Linked DNA regions of Homo sapiens: region 1 is linked to region 2. Evidence: promoter capture Hi-C in 16 types of primary human blood cells and fetal thymus (Javierre and others, 2016). All regions are on one chromosome and are shown on one strand. The core of a region is centred on a gene start or on the middle of the fragment in contact, and the rest is flanking DNA. Distances in the headings are between cores, read along the strand shown.

Evidence for each region. The method cuts DNA at HindIII sites, captures the fragments that hold promoters and counts their contacts. A CHiCAGO score of 5 or more calls a contact.
Region 1: a contact is called between a fragment that was not itself captured here and the fragment with the promoter of CERK in region 2, in 2 of 17 cell types (M0 macrophages and endothelial precursors). The highest score is 5.9, in M0 macrophages.

What each region holds. Positions count from the first base shown.
Region 1 is chr22:46,336,243-46,342,109 of GRCh38, reverse strand. It overlaps TRMU (tRNA mitochondrial 2-thiouridylase), which reads right to left. Exons shown (of 11, transcript NM_018006.5): 2 at 4,166-4,331. Among named protein-coding and RNA genes, the nearest start is that of TRMU, 3.5 kb to the right of the region's middle. RefSeq lists an enhancer at 5,807-5,867. The HindIII fragment of the contact is 870 bases long and covers 4,140-5,009 here.
Region 2 is chr22:46,734,982-46,740,035 of GRCh38, reverse strand. CERK (ceramide kinase) reads left to right here and starts at 1,784. Exons shown (of 13, transcript NM_022766.6): 1 at 1,784-2,029. The coding sequence starts at 1,888. LOC105373077 (a long non-coding RNA gene) reads left to right here and starts at 3,644. Exons shown (of 2, transcript XR_001755593.2): 1 at 3,644-3,733; 2 at 4,528-5,054. RefSeq lists enhancers at 942-1,271, 645-1,303, 2,542-2,711, 3,399-3,972 and a silencer at 1,432-2,391. The HindIII fragment of the contact is 34,881 bases long and covers 1-5,054 here.

The DNA.
Region 1 (5,867 bases), core at 3,325-5,824, 400 kb after region 2:
CAGCACTATCTCCAAGTAGATGGTATCGGAACTGAATCAGAGGACACCCAGTCGGTGTCCACTGCTTGCTGTATGGGGAAAACCCCCCACACCTTTGTCACAGAAGCCTTCTTCCGTGAGGATGACTGCCGTGATGAGAACAGAGGAGAAACACAGTCAGAGGCTTCCCTACACAAGGGCTCCATGAGCCATTCTGCAATCTCAGCCTGGAATGCTGCGTCACTGGGCAAATATACCAAAAATACTATCCTCAGGTGACAAACACACACTTCTGAGAACTAGCAAACTCTTGGGTGCTTAAAGTGGATCAGGCTATCCTAATTCAGTGAACTTCTGCTCTAACAGACTGACTGAACATGGGAAAAAGATGCCATGATACCAGCAAAACTTACCAAGAATTTCATAGTCTTCGAGGATTCACTTCAAGAGGGTTATGATGCCTATTTTGGGAGTTTAAAAATGGGTGTATTTTTGGTATAAGTGATTTTTTTCATTTAACCTAAAACTCTCTATTAATCAACAAGGGTTAAAAAAAAAACCAGTGCTGATCAAGAGGTTTGTGTTTTGCAGACATATCACAGATCTGCACAGGGTCAGAGGTTCCTTGGATATCTTCCACTTTAGCAGGCACCAAACTGTTTTCCTACTTCTCAGTCCCCCTAGAAGTTCATAAAAACTCATGTTTTTCCACATTTGCAACAACACTTGATATTATTACACTCTTTCCATTTTGCTTTAATTATTAGAAAGTTACCAGGAAGCTCATTAAACTATAAACTACTTAAGGTGCAATCTGTGTCTGTGTCCTAGACCCAACAAACTTTCTATATCACAGTCATCAATAAATGTTGAAGAGGCTGAACATTAAAATCAGTTTCTGAAAAGACACACTGTTAACCCTTTCGTAAACAGCAGATGGGAAGGCGTGTGTTTTGGCATTAGCAAAAACAATGGAGTAGCCCAGCCTCTTCTCTAACTGGAAAGAAGAGAAGCCTTTCATGTGCCTCGGGAGGGAGACAGATTTAAAAGACTCAGCAGCTAAAACGTATCTGGACTCTGATCCTTGAAGGCCAGTGGGTCTTGAATGAAAGAATGCAAAAGAAATCTCTGAGCTAGAGAGCCCTACTAGAGAAGTGAGTCTTCAGCGGAAAGACCAATGCCTCCACGGGCAGCTGGTACTGGGCGAGGGCAGAGGGCAGGCTGGCTGGAGCCAGGGGCGACCTCGGGGGCAGCCCCAGAGATGGGAAAAGACTCTACCCGGCCGCCTCCTTCTCTCAGTCCCTATCAAGCAGCGCCAGAAGGCGGCAGCAAGCACTGGCCTGGAAAGCTGGGTTTTAATCCCAGCTCCGCTCCTAATTCTGGGGTTTAATCCCAGCTCCGCTCCTAATTCTGGGGTTTAATCCCAGCTCCGCTCCTAATTCTGGGGTTTAATCCCAGCTCCGCTCCTAATTCTGGGGTTTAATCCCAGCTCCGCTCCTAATTCTGGGGTTTAATCCCAGCTCCGCTCCTAATTCTGGGGTTTAATCCCAGCTCCGCTCCTAATTCTGGGTTTTAATCCCAGCTCCGCTCCTAATTCTGGGGTTTAATCCCAGCTCCGCTCCTAATTTGCCATACTATTCAAGTCACTCTTCCTATCTGGCCTCAGCTGAGCTAAACTTCAAAAATCGCATCCACTCGTACGTTCTGAAAAAGCTGTGCTGGCAGGTGAAGTGTAAGCTCACTTGGATTCCCTGTTGTCCCCTCAAACTCTACAGTACTCATGAGGAATCCCCTAAACCAGCTTTCCCCAGCCACCCAGCCTTGATCTTGAAACTACTGCTGACTCCTCTCCTCTCTGGTCTCCCACACACATCAGTCCCTAAGCCGCATCACACCTTTTCTCAAAGAAAGACCCTGACAACCCCCCACACCACCAGCACAGCTGAAGTGCTTATTAAAGCAGATTCCAGGGCCGCCCCCAGACCTCGGTCCAGGTCTGTGTTTAACAAGCACCTCAGATCTACTGCCCGGTGGACTTGTCCTCTGGGTCCAACAAGCCAGCCCTCACCTTCCACTCCCACACTCCCTCCCCATGAAGTCCAAATCTCCAGCAACAGCACTTCCTGAGACTCTCTGCCTTTGGTCTTCCCCCAGATTTATCCTGTATTTGGCCGCCACACTCTTTTTTTTTTCTTATGTCCCCGAGAAAACTGCAGAAGTTTTTAATGCATTTATCATGCATTCTACAGATAAGTTTTTAATGCATTTATCATGCATTCTACAGGTAACTTTCCCCAGGAAAATTCAGCCATCAGTTTTGTCCATGTTGTTAATATATACGACACCCATATGTTATAGCATAGAGTCACAGAGGGTTCATATTCAAGCTCTTCCGTTGATTATTTAGGTGACCATAGTCAATTTACTTAATCTCTCTAAATTTCGTTTTATTGTTATTTCAATGGTTTTTTGGGCAACAGCTGGTATTTGGTCACATGGATAAGTTCTTCAGTGGTGACTTCTGAGATTTTGGTGTACCCGTCACCCAAGCAGTGGACATTGTACCCGATGTGTAGTCTTTTATCCCTCACCCCAGAGTCCATTATATCATTTTTATGCCTTTGCGTCCTCATAGCTTAGCTCCCCAGACTCATCTTTTTAATAATGAAAATAAAAATAGCAGGCTGGCGTGGTGGCTCACGCCTGTAATCCCAGCACTTTGGGAGGCTGAGACGAGTGGATCTTCTGAGGTCAGGAGTCTGAGACTAGCCCGGCCAACATGGCGAAACCCTGTCTCTACTAAAAATACAAAAATTATCCGGGCGTGGTGGTGCATGCCTATAATCCCAGCTACTTGGGAGGCTGAGGCATGAGAATCGCTTGAACCTGGGAGGCAGATGTTGCAGTGAGCCAAGATTGCGCCACTGCACTCCAGCCTGGGCAACAGAGCGAGGCTCTGTCTCAAAAAAAAATAGAAAAGAAAAACAGCTATGTTTATTGACTGCTTACTAATATACCAGGCATACATACTAGAACCTAATCTCAATTCTTTCATAACCCTGTGAGGCATCAGTGTTATCCTCATTTTAAAGATGAGAAAATTGGGGCTTAGAAAAGTCAAGTATCTCTTCTGGGTCTTTGTTGGCAGGAAAAAAAGAGAATTTTTTTCAATTAAAAAAACAAAGTCAAGTAAATTGCCCAAGGTCATATAATAAGCTACAGTCAGGACTCAACCCAAGGCTCTTCTGCCCCTAAAGCCCACTCAGGCAGGGGCAGCCTGTCCCGCGCACATGGCCTGCTGTGTCAGACGCCTTCGACAACTGCCCGACATTCATCACAGTCAGGGCTCACCAGAGGATGAGCCCTACACTCCTTCCACTGCAGGAACAAAAGTCCAGCCAAACTTTACAACGGTCCTGAAATACACAATCAGCATTTCTTCTCCCCTTCACGCTGCTCTCGTTACCCCATTTGGAGTCCCTTCTCTACAACTTTGTTTGCAACCCCTCCTCTCCGGTGAAGCCTTCTTGATTACTCCACACTGCAAGTTTCTCCCTCCTCTGGGTTCAGTGACTGATAGCATCACTGGTACTTCCTGCGTGCCACGCATCACTGTCACCTCTTGTGAAGATAATGTCCTCCCAACTAGACCGCAAACTCCTACAGAGCCAGGTCACAGTGAAGACATCTTAATGTTCCTAGATGTGGCACACGCCTAGCACACAGCACTTAATTATTGAGATTATATTGGATTTTAGAAAAGTTTTTGTTTGTTTCTTGTTTTCAGAGGCACAGGCCATGTATCACCTCTTTCTCAGAAATCCCCTAATCGCTGACCCACATAGCACACAGGCATTGGTGCTCACCTTCCAGGGGAGCCCTCAGCCTTAGCTCCCCTATCCTAACTGGGCAACAGAAACAGCTCAAGGTCCAAGAAAGCATTAAAGAGACTTCAGGCAAGTGGCAAAATGACAGGAGTGAGAGAGCTGGGTGTGCTGTGGGGTCCAGGCCTCGCCTCTAACACAGAGCCCCGAGGGTGGCTGAGGCCTCTTGCAGTCTTCAGCACCACCGTGGAGGGAGAGCGCTGGGCTGCAGCACAGGCGTCGGTCTGGCTGGTTACCGGATCCTTCCACTGCAAGGATCCACAGTGTGAGGAAGCTTCCTTTGTGCTGTGACCCGCACTCACCTGAACACATCATTCCAATACTCCTTTACGTAGGACACTTGATGGAAAGGGATGTCTAAGATCTGGCAAACTCTGTAAGCATCTTCACAGTCTTTGTCGGCAGTACAGACCCCATGTTCATCCAGTGAGTCCCAGTTCTTCATAAACACCCCTGTCACCTGGTAACCTGCGGGCGGGAAGGTCAATTAAAGAGAATACATAAATCAACCTTCGGTAAAACGGCAGTGATTTCTGAGCTCTGAGAAGTTCCCCACACGCTGTGCTCCTGTGCCTCTGTGCCTGGCCTGCCGGGCAGTCCCTGCTTTGCCATGTGGCTTCAGGGATCCGGTTTCCATCTTGGTGCCTGAGTCCCCAAGATTAACGAGGTGGTATTTTCTCATCTTTGTGTCCCCATCTATGTATCAGCACAATACCTAGCAGGAGGGGATCAGCCAGTGTGTGTGGAATACACGAAGGAATAGTCGAAACTCAACAAAATTTTTCAAAGCACCATTCAGTTATCAAAAAAGGAAACTCTTTTCAAAAGTTATTTCTAGTTACTATCTAAGACTTAGATTCTAAGTGATCAGATATAAAGATAATTAAAATTTTCGATATTTTGTAAGAGCTGTACCACCTAGTTTATGACCTATTTTCTACCTTTTCGATTGTAACAAAATATTCACCCAAATATTGGAAAGGCCAACTTTAGCCCTACACCACCTTAGCAAACTACACAGGTGCAGACCCTGTATGAGAAAGCTGGTTCGTTTAGGTAGGCTGAATGTAATGAAAGACAGGGCAAATGACTGCTGAAGAAGGCTTCATATAGTACCCAAAACAACAGAAATTTGATGACAAAGCTTTGTCAAAACTACACCACCACACGCGAAAGACCACCCCTATCCCAGATCAACCAGACTAATGTCTACCTAACAGTCTAAAGCCCCTGGTATAGCATCTTCCATAATCAGGGCTAAACGTGCTCCAGGCTCCTCTCCTTCCATCTCCATCTGGCCAGAACCAGCCCACACTTGCAGGCCTCTGTGATTCTGCTTGCACTGCTGACTGTGCCGGGAGGGCCGCCTCCACCTCCAAGTCTCTGCTTAGTGACATCCTACTCTTCTTTCGACTCAGCTGAGCACCTCCATCTCTAGGATGCTTTCCTCCACTCTCCCTTCCTCACAACTATTTCTGCTTATGGTCCGCCTACCCTTCTCTTTGGCACTTACTGTACCTACCATAATAGCTATGGTTATTAACAATATAAACTAATAGCCACTACTGTTTTCTGCGTACCTCGTATGTGCTGAGCACGTACTCATCAGTATGTACTATGTCATCTAATCCCTCCAGTCACCCCGTGAGGCAGGTGTTAGCCGAATTTTACAGGGGACGGCTTAATTCACTTGCCCAAGGTCAGGAGCCAAAGATGGCGCAAAGCAGAGCTCCACAAACGTGACTCTGTGAATGAGGCCTCCCGCGGGGAGCCACACAGGTGAAGTTAAACAAGTGCTCATTTCAGCGCCGGGCCCGAGGAATGCTAAGCACCCGTGGGGCTCCGTTTAGATGCCGGAAGAAATGCAAATGCTCCTGGAGAAAACTTTGTCCTCCAGCGAGCGGAGAACACAGGAGACGCTGAACAAGCAGACCCGCCGCGCGGCAGTTGTCCAGTCTGCTGAGTGGGGAGGACAAGGACCTCCCACCGGGCGGCCACAGCGTG
Region 2 (5,054 bases), core at 535-3,034:
AATGCCTGACTTCAGGTGATCCACCCGCTTCAGCCTCCCAAAGTGCTGGGATTACAGGTGTGAGCCACAGAGCCCGGTCAACATTTCCTCTTCTTGTAAGGACGCGCTGGATGAGGGCCCACCCTAACAGCCTCATTGAATCTCCTGTGTGTTTTGTAACTGATGTTGCTGTCTCCCCCAACGGAGCTCCTTCGGGGCCTAAGCACTTCTGAGTCGTCTCTGGGCCCCCACCTCTGGCTGCAGGATTTTAAGCCAAGGCGTGCAGCCGGGGGACAGCAACGTGAATACGCCGGGAGGGGCACGGGGAGCCTAAGCACAGGGAGGCCCAGGGAAGGGGTCCCCAGTAGGGACGCTGGTGCTCTCGGGCCCCTGCCCATGCCACCCTTGCCTGCCAACCCTCTTCGCATGCAGCGGCACCCTCCTGCCACTGGCATGAGCTTTTCTTTCCAAGTAAGTTTCAGATCCACATTTCCCAGGCCTCAGAGCGGCAGCTGAGGGAGGGAGGAGGCTGGGCAGGCCTCGCTGCTGCACACCCCACTGTGTGCCACGATCAGGTACTGCCTGCTAGGACTCTGACTGGGCCCACGGTGGCTGCAGGACTGTCCTGGGGCCTTCACTGCATGGCCTGAACAGGGGCTGGGCTCCCAGGGAGGAATGATTCATGGCTGGTTCCCGCCCTATAGACAAGACAGTCACAAGGAGCTGGCAGGGTAAGACCTGTATATGCTGCCACCTGGTGCCAGGCACAGCAGCAAGGCCACGTGGACCTAGCCCACCTCACCTCTGCCTGCAGCAGCAGGGCTGGGTAGGGGAGCCGAGGGGAGGGGCAGGCCTCAGACCTCAGTGTCACATCCAGGCAGTGTCAGTGTGAGCCTAGGCTCTGCCACACTGGAGCCCTGTGCTCTTGGGCAAGTGACTTAACCTCTGTGAGCACAGTCTTCACTGATAAATCAGGGAGGGATGTGCCCTCCGAACCAGGTTGTGGCTGCTTCCTATGGGGCTGTGTTAAGCACTGCGGACGCAGAGACTGGAGCTTGCATGAAGGCGCACGGCGTGCTCTGAAGGCAGGGCTGGAGTCCCTGCAGGCTGGTGATTCCTTCAGCTGTGGGGTCAAGGAGGCCTTCCTGGGGAGGCGGTGAATTGGGGCCACAGGGGCCGTGTCTCTCCAAGTCTGGGGCCCAGGCTCCGGTTCCTAGGGCCAGCTCGGGGGCGGCTGCTCAGCTGTCTGCTCTGTGGCTTCAGGCCCCAGAGCAGTTCAAAGGGCCAGCGCCCCCGCCCCCTAAAAAGACCTCCGCCTCCTGAAAGCCTTACCTGCCTGTCGGGGCCCAGCTGCAGGCCCCCTCCCAGGCCGACAGGACGCCAGGATCGTAGAGGGCACCCGCCGCCCAAGGTCACGTCGCCCGTGGCGCCCCCATCCAGGCCCGCCCCCCGCCGCGCCCGATCGCCAGGACTGCGTTTCCACGCCGCCCGGACCCCGCCTGAACCGAGGCCCGCGCGGAAGGCGCCACTGAGTCCCGGCCGGCCGCGGGAGCGCCAGATTCAGCACCCGGCACCCGCCGGAGAAGAGAGGAGAGAAAGGCAGCCGCCTCCCGGCCCCAGCGCCCTGGCCTCGGCCAGCCCCATCCCGGCCCCTTCCTCCTCCCTCTTCTCCCCTTCTCGGGTCCCCCCGTCTCTCCCTGGCTCCCGGCCCCTCCTCTACCCACGCCTCCTCCTCGCCCCCGCCCCGCCCGTCCCCTCCGCGGTCCCCGCCGCCCGCGTACGGGGTGACGCAGCGCCGCCTCCCGCCGCCCGCCGCCCGCCGCCCGGGCCACTGCAGGGGCCGCTAACGGTCCGGCGCCCCTCGGCGTCCGCGCGCCCCCAGCCTGGCGGACGAGCCCGGCGGCGGAGATGGGGGCGACGGGGGCGGCGGAGCCGCTGCAATCCGTGCTGTGGGTGAAGCAGCAGCGCTGCGCCGTGAGCCTGGAGCCCGCGCGGGCTCTGCTGCGCTGGTGGCGGAGCCCGGGGCCCGGAGCCGGCGCCCCCGGCGCGGGTGAGTGTCGCCGCCGCCCGGGTTCGGCCGGACCTGGCCAGGGAGCGGGGGCGGCTTGGGGGACCCGGCTGGGGGGACCGGGTGCAGGGAGCGAGCGGCTGTGGTAAGGCCGGGGGCCCTGGGAGCGCAGGCGCCAGGGAGGGGTCGGGGCAGGCGGGAGGGAGGCCGGGGCCAGGGGCCGGGCTGTGCGCCGCCGTCTGCTCCGGGAACCCGAGGACAAAGCGCCGCGCAGTGGAGGGGAGGCCGGCGCCCCATCCCCGCGGGGAGGTGGGACCCGGGGCGCGGGGTCGTGGCCCCCGGTGCGGTCTGTCCGCAGGGCACCTCTGGACAAGACGGACTGTGGATGGATCCCGAGGGGGGGTGCCAGGCGCTCCCCACCGCGCGCATTGCAGTTTACTCCAAGAACAGATGCTTTTCTTTAGCAGGGATCCGAAACCTGAGAGGCGCCCTTGCAGGGTGAGGACTTCCTGTTAAGAAGTTAAAGAAGGGGCCCCTGACTTTCTGTGGGGTGTGCTCCCTGCTCGGGATGGGGGAATTGGTTTCCGTGCCACGGGTTGGCTACTTGCCCCGCAGAGGCCCTCCGGATGAGGAGAAGAGTGACTTTGGTAAACATGGAGGACGCATAGCCCACCCTGGAGAGAGCCCTGCAGGAGGACAGAGGGTTTGTTTTTGTTTTTTGTTGTTTTTTGTTTGTTTTTTGTTTTTTTTTTTTTTTGAGTCGGAGTGTTGCTCTGTTGCCCAGGCTGGAGTTCAATGCCACGATCTTGGCTCACTGCACCTCCGCCTCCTGGGTTCAAGCAATTCTCCCTGCCTCAGCCTCGGAGTAGCTGGGATTACAGGAGCCCGCTACTACGCCCGGCTAATTTTTGTATTTTAGTAGAGACAGGGTTTCACCATGTTGGCCAGGCTGGTCTTGAATTCCTGACCTCAGGTGATCTGCCCACCTCAGCCTCTCAAAGTGCTGGGATTACAGGTGTGAGCAACCGCACCCAGCCTTTTTTCTTTTTAATTATTGGGGTGGGTGTGGCAGAGGCCAGGATTCATGCTGGATGTGCGGAGCTGGAATGGGGTGGGTGTGGCGGAGGCCAAGATTCTCTGGTGGATATTCGGAGCCTGGGATGACACCTTTAGACCCTGTGGGCAGTCGAGGTCAGGAGTTCTTCTGGGCGCTTTCTGGTGCTGAGTGGTGAGGATCTGTGGGTTGGGTTCTGGTGGGGACAGAGTTGAACGTTAGGTGGGGCCAAGGTCGAGGGGTGGTCTCAGACCCATGACCAACACTTGGTTTCCAGCCCTGGGGTCACCTATCTGTGGCTGGGCATCTGAGACTTGACTTTCCTAAGGTATTTCTCATGTCCCCTTTGGTAGAAATGTCACACCCCAAATATCACCCACCAGGGCCCACACACAAGGAGAACAGGTGCCTGACCTGGGCCCGAAGGGTTTGTACTTTGTTGTAAATCCCTAGGCTTCAGGAAGATGACTGCCTCCCCCAAGCACTTCCTAAGTGCGGGCCACTGGGCTTCAAACCGGATGGGTTCCTGAGAGGCAGCTGCTCCCGTCCTAGGGATGCAGGGGCCGATCTGCAGGGGCTGGAAGTGACTGGCCCAATTAGCTGCTGTGCTTGTAGCCACTGGGCTGTAAGGCTTCCCTCAGGCTCCAGCCGCCGCAGAGACGCCAGACCCTTACAGGGCATCTGTGTGGGAGGTCAGTCATCACTGCTTTCTGCCTTGGCGTCCCCAGCCAGCTCCCATTATGGTTTCTGGTCCCCCAGGTCAGGGCTTGGTGTGGTGTGGCGTCTGCTTTTGTCCAGCCTGCTGGGGTTTGCCTCTTGGCATGCTAATTGCTTCACTCTTGCTAAGCCAAGGTGCTTTTGTGCGGGTTCATCCTGAGCTGCCTGACTGGCCTGCCAGGAGCTTGGTCCCTCTTGGAGAGGGAGGGCCCTGGTTTGTGGGGCCATGGATGGTGGGGCCCTGGCTGGTGGCCCTGGCTGGTGGGCTTCCTCCAGGAAGCAGCCTGCCCTCTCCACCCAGGAGTGCTCTCCCATGCAATGGGAAAACATCAACAAGTTGGGAAACGCTAAGTTGTGAATGAGTTCAGGAATACAGCCACACTGTCTCTAGTTTTTTTCTCATAGCTTTACAGTCCCCAAAAGGAATCAGGCCCAGGTTCGATTCTTCTATGCTTGAGGTCAGTAGGGCCATAGTAGGGCAGAAGAATGTGAACCAGCTCACAGGACATTTAATTTGGTCAGCAAGGTGGCATTGCCCAGCCCTCCCCATTCCCCCAGGTGTATCTGGGCACACTGGGATTGATTAGGTTGAGGAATGATGAGAGGTGGAGAATTGTGCAAAAACTGGCCCTAGGAGGACCTGTGAGATGAGGCAGGAGCAGCCCTGGAGCTCCAGGTGACCAATGGGCTAAAGACAAAGCCAAGGCCACTGTGTGTGCCCTGCTGGGGTGGCCGCTTAGTTATTCCGACTCCTTTGTTTTCTCCGTAGCATCACCCCTATTTCAGATGTGGACAGTAGGAGTGGGAATTGACTGGGCCCAGAGGCAGTGATGTACAGAGGGAGCTGGCTTTGAACCCAGGCACGTGCACTTTCGTCAGTGGGTCATCATGCTGGGACAGTGACTGACTGTACAAGAGCACAGACAAGGACTAGCAATTTGGATCGCTGCAGCTTCCTGGGCCTGGGTGAGGTCTGCACCTGAGGAAGCCGCGACAGCAAGTGCCCTGGGCCGCCAGCCTGGTGGGAAGTAGGGCAGGACGAAAACAGGAACTTGAAGTGGGTCATGCTCGTTGAACTGGAAACACTGAGTTGATATCTGGGTTATTTCCCCTGACTGTCGCAAAACACACTTAGACAAACCCTGCATTTATTCCTTTAGAGTTGGGAATGGGAAGAGTGTGTGTGTGTGTGTGTGTGTGTTGGGGGGTGAGGGGACTACTGCCCAGGCTCTACCTTTGTGGGAGGATCCTCCCCTTCCTTCCACCAACCCCACTTGGGATGTCCCAGGCTGGTGG